Linked DNA regions of Homo sapiens: region 1 is linked to region 2. Evidence: promoter capture Hi-C in human tissues and cell types (Jung and others, 2019). All regions are on one chromosome and are shown on one strand. The core of a region is centred on a gene start or on the middle of the fragment in contact, and the rest is flanking DNA. Distances in the headings are between cores, read along the strand shown.

Evidence for each region. The method cuts DNA at HindIII sites, captures the fragments that hold promoters and counts their contacts. A contact is called where the count stands out against the background at its distance.
Region 1: a fragment that was not itself captured here is called in contact with the fragment with the promoter of DSCC1 in region 2 in 1 of the 25 tissues and cell types used here (liver).

Annotation. Positions count from the first base shown.
Region 1 is chr8:119,819,311-119,822,010 of GRCh38, forward strand. It overlaps TAF2 (TATA-box binding protein associated factor 2), which reads right to left. Exons shown (of 26, transcript NM_003184.4): 3 at 36-196. Among named protein-coding and RNA genes, the nearest start is that of TAF2, 12 kb to the right of the region's middle. The HindIII fragment of the contact is 5,556 bases long and covers 1-2,700 here.
Region 2 is chr8:119,854,640-119,857,339 of GRCh38, forward strand. It overlaps DSCC1 (DNA replication and sister chromatid cohesion 1), which reads right to left and starts at 1,255. Exons shown (of 9, transcript NM_024094.3): 1 at 975-1,255. The coding sequence starts at 1,156. LOC105375728 (a long non-coding RNA gene) reads left to right here. Exons shown (of 4, transcript XR_928590.3): 2 at 36-163; 3 at 767-1,240. RefSeq lists an enhancer at 927-1,236 and a silencer at 1,347-1,406. The HindIII fragment of the contact is 8,457 bases long and covers 1-2,700 here.

The DNA of each region.
Region 1 (2,700 bases), core at 100-2,599, 35 kb before region 2:
GTTAAAAATAGTGACTTTTAAAGTGCATAACTTACTGTTTTGATTCACTGTGACAAACTTCCAAGGTTGGGTCATTATAAATAAAAGCAGCCTCTAAATCATTGATCCTTACTCGGTATATTCTACACTGTTTGCTGTTCAACTTGATTCTATTCAAGTTTGCAACTGTGGGAAATATAGTCAGTTCCACAAATCCCTGTAAAGATAGAGAATAACAACTTCATTATAAAGACTGGTATGTTTCAGAATATATTTCTTTTATTTTTACCACTTGTACACATATTATACTACAGAGACAAAATCCCTAATAGCTACATACATACATATGCTCTCCAAGTATCTTAATTTCAAACATGATTGTCCTAGTGACTGAATGGGTGTGAGTTATGTATACTTTATCATCCTGGTGGTTCATATTCACTATCAGTGAAAATTAGGCAGTCAGAAAAAAGTAAAAGGGCTCACTACTCTCAAAAACCAGAATTTCTAAACAGACTAGGCCCTAAAAAGGGAAGAAGAAAAAAATTACAGAGCAGAAAGGGAATCAAAATCAGAAGGGTGATGAGTGAAAGAACATGGCAGAAAAAAAAAGGGGTAAAAAATTATACCACTGAAGCTAACAAGTATGAGTTTCTGCTCATGAGTAAATTAGGACAGGTAAAACAGCAAGAGCTACAAAAGATACCAAGGCAAGTAGGAAAAATCTGCTGCCATATCCAGGAGCAGCAAATACATCACAGTGTTCAATCACTTCCTGTCAAGTAGTCCAGAGGCCATATGTAGTTCTACCATGTTAGCTGTATGGTAGCAATGTCTCTGTATCCAACACATGAAAAACAGTTAAATACAGACTGCCCACCACCCTCTTGTATTGAATCAATGGGAAAGACGAACAGATGAAACACAGAATATATGTTAATTGATTTTAATATCCTGGGTTGAAAATTGATGTACTCAAACATAAAACAAGGGACAGCATGAAATAGCAATATTTCAGGACTCCAACGTGAAGAGAAAAATTTCAGAGGCTATAACAGAAATATCTAAGACAAAATTCAGACAGCAACCACAGAGGACTAGATTATAATGGCTGCTACCAGGTACCAGACATTACACTAGATACTTTCCTATGTTCCCTCTAATCCTAATACCAACTCTAAGAGACAAGTACTACTTTATACTTTCTACAGAGAAGCTACAAATACTACTGTACAGTATTAAAAAGTTAACTTTTTACAGATAAGATAAGAAAGGCAAAAAAAGTAGGTCAGTAATAAGTAGAGACTAGAGATTCAAACACAACTAAATAATTCCAAACAATTCCCACTATGCCATAATGCCTGTGGGTACAAGGGTTTTAAATGATATGCAAGAATTGTTTTTAGGTAACATTTAGTCCAACCGCTCAAGAAAGCCTAGAGATTCTGTAGCCCCTTTGTTCTCAATTCCCAAGTAAGAGGAGAGCCATACACTTAAATTAGAACAATCAGCACATATCTGTGAGCTAGAAACACAGAGAACAAAAGAACAAAGGCCAAAATAAAGTTGATAAAGATTCTGTGTTTAAAGGTGTAAACTATGAGCTGCTGTAGGAAGGAAGACCAGAATTCCTTTTAATTAGCATATCTGTCATCCAATGACCATTCTAAATTTAAATGAGCTTGGATCAGCTGAAAGATAAGATTTAGAACCAAGACAACTACAAAACAAAAGATTAAAGAAGTACTGTCAACTGCTACTTGGGTGGGACATAAGAACAGCATCTGGTTTTCTAAACTCTGGTAACAATAATAGAATGATGAAATGTATTTCAGGAAGATAGGAAAAGCCCAGTCTCCTTGTACCATCAGGCCTCTGCCACCACCTAGGGCTCTAACCTACAGCTGCCTGAAACATTCGGACCCATTAACCTCTACAAGTCTTCAATCTCTGCTGCCCTTAGCCACTGGCATAACTGCAAGCCTCTCGGGTCATCTAGCTTCTCACTCCTTGCTTCTTGCTCTCTCCCCACCACTTCACAGATAACCATTCTCCTGGAGCCCACACTCCATTTTAAACATTTCCCCTGTGCTTTTCAACCTTTTCTAAAACTCCCTCTCTACCCTCTTGCCTTAAATGAAATGGTTCCTGAATCCTCCTAGACAAGAAGCTACTTACTCTCCCATTCACTATAAACGAGGGTAGTGGAAAATAGGCATTCTCCTAGTTTCCACGACTACTTCTGGGTCACTTATAGGATTTTATTTACTGTACACTACAAGGTTAAGGACAGTGTAGTGTCACCGTGAAAAGCAGGTGTTCTGGAGGTAGACTCCCTGTATTCAAATCCTAGCTCTACCACTTAGTAACTGTATGATATTGAGCTAGTAACTCCAGCCCACTGTGCCTCAGTTTCCTCATAAAAAATGACATTATTGGCCTATTAGTGTTATTATGACAACCGAACAGCCAGGCATGGGCTCACGCCTGTAATCCTAGCACTTTGGGAGGCTGAGGCAGGAGGACTGCTTGAGTCCCGGAGTTCAGAACCAGCCTGGTCAACATAGCAAGACCCTATCTGTACATAAACTATTAAAAAATTAGCCAGGCATGGTGGCTGTAGTTCCAGTTACTGGGGAGGCTGAGGTGGAATGATTGCTTGAGCCTGGGAGGTTGAGGCTGCAGCGAGTCATGATTGTGACACGGGTGACAGAGCAAGAT
Region 2 (2,700 bases), core at 5-2,504:
ATTTTTTTGTTTTTGTTTTGTTTTGTTTTTGCCAGCTAGATTAACTAGAACTGGACCGAGAGAAAGTCCTCACACCTGAGTTCCTTTCTCAACTCTCCACCAACTGAACCGGGATGGAAACAGACTAGTGAAGTTCTTTCAGTTCCCTTAAAGGTACTTTGAGGTATATAGCAGGTATCTGAAGAATGGCCAGTTTACTCTAACACTCTTTGGTGGGCAAAGTACGAAAACTGAAAGACAGCCTAAAGGATTCCATTAAGAAAAAAGAGAAAAAATAGCCTAATAAAATATAGGTGTCGGAGGACCAATTGTGCAAAAGAGAATCAAGCTGGAGCTCCCTATTTTGCAGGAGCTGGGGCTGCACAGGGTGGAGGGATATAACGATTCTCTAGACTTCTCAAGACTGCCTTTAAAAAACTACCTCAACTTCGACTTCTAATCAATGATCTTGCAGCAAGTTTGTATCTGACCTGGAATTAGAAACAGCTTCAGATCCCTACTAAGCAAGTTTGCTTCGGGGTGGGTAGGGGTCTCACCCAATTACCAAGTCTGTAAGCTGATTCCCAGCACTTCCTATCTATCATCTGAGTAAAATAAATATAAGTGGAAGGCAAGAGTTCTATAAACATTGGGTATCACCACTGTATTTTAAGGTAGAGTGACAGGTGTCCTGTAGAGTCCCTGTAATCACCGGTAACTCTTCAAAAACTTCACGGAGGTTGTATTAGTATTTCCTGACTTGCTCCCGCTGACACATGCCTCCAAGGTCAGCTGGACCAGTGCTACTCATCACCGCAGTGCAGCTAACTGGACGGCCCACCGGAGGCGTGGACTCCTCGGGAACAGGCAGCTTGCTATGAGCCCCCGGCCAGGTCAGTGCATCTCTCTGGCCCTGTTTTCTTATCCCGACTTTCCCCGCTGAGAAAATAACGTGGCCGGCCAGAGGCTGGGGGCGCCGCGTGACCAGGGCTCACCTGTGTCCATCCTCCAGCTGCTGGCACAGCGTGGGCTCCAGCTCCAGCAGGCAGAAGTCGCCGGCTGCAGCGCCGCTGGCCCCAGGGCCGAAGCCCAGGCAGTGCACCGCCGGCAGCAGCTCGGCCGCATTCAGCTTGGCGATCTGCAGCGTCGCATCCACCTCGTCGCGGGTCCTCTTCATCGCAGCGCCGGGTCTAGGAGTCCCGCCGCGCCCGGGTGGCTGCGGGCTTGGCGGGCAAGAAAGAAGTTCCCAAGCAGCCGGAAGGTAGGAAACCTGAGCGTTTGAAAGCGCGCCAAGGCGGCCATGGGCGTGTTTCCGGGGCGGAGCGCGCTGCGGGCCCGCCCGCGGGAAGGCCTGCCGGCTTCTGGGAGCGCGAGCCCCTCCGTGCCCCACGCCGGACCGCGACTGCAGGAAGGAAACGCGGCTTCCCGGGGGGCGGTCTCGGCGGAAGCTCGCAGGGGCAGAGCTGCGACTCGGCGGGTTGGGACACGGATCCCTCGCCCACCCTTTCCGCTGTCCCCTTGCCCGCCCCCCATCCCCGATCTCCGTCCCTGGTTTCCAGCCGATGCTCCCATTTCCTCGCCGTCCACATTGTCTCACCTTCCGCCAGTGGCGGGCCCTGTGATAACCACTTGGCATGTATAATTCCATGAGCCCGTTGCCACAACCCTGTAAGGTGGTGCCTTGGTCATTCCCTTTTGCCAATGAGGAAGCAGGCTCCTTGCTCGTGATGGCAGAGTCAGGAGGTAACAGAGTCTGACTCCAGCCTAGCCGACTGTGGCTCTAAAAGCTTCCTGCGGGGTTTTGTGCAAATAACCCATGCTCGGGAGCGAGGCCCTGGGAAGGAGTATCTCGCTTCTTTGGGTCAGGGCACCATCATATCTGGAGACAACGGCGGGACTAGTCTATTCGTTGAATACCTAGTGTTAACCGAAAAGTGACTGATGCAGGTCTCGTTCAATAGAGGTTTATTTAAGCAAGGTTGAGGACGCACCCGAAGGGAAAAACAAGTCACAGGAGCATCTGTGACTTGTACATTTTCCAAAGGTTTGGGGAACTTCAGTATTAAGAGTTTTAAGAGAAAAGGTTTTCACTATGCACACATACATGAATTGCTTGTAACAGCGTAATGTGTAAACTTTCCCAGAGATGCTTAGGGAATCGTTGAGGGCCCTGGCTGTCCCTGAGAGCTAAAATAGTCTGGGAGGAATCACTTAAGAGATGGTGACCTCCTACTAGTTAGTGCAAATCAGACCTTGCTTGAAGTGAAAGAAAGTGGTGGGTAAGGTGTTGAATTCAAAGGATCTGAGCAGACATTTTTTTCAATTCTTGGGTAAAATGATACGAAAATACCAGAGTAGGGCATCCCAGGAGTCTGGGCAGTGCTTTCGTTGGTGGTGGAAAGATTGGTTCATGTGACCTACTTCTTCACTAGCCTCTTTTACATTTGAATGCATAGGAATTCGGTGGAATGAAATCCTGAATGTGACAGTGGTTGCCTGATAAGAAGTTATTATTGAAGGGAATCAACCATTGTAGTTGCTCTATTAAATGGGAAACATTCCCTACAACTAGAAGCAGTGTCAACTAGAACCCTGACATTTACATCAGACAGGCATGGCTGCGAATCCCAACTCTCTTCAGAACTTTGTGACCTAAGGCAATTTACCTAATTTCTCTGAGTACAACTTCCTTATCGATAAAAAAGCACATAAGACCTACAT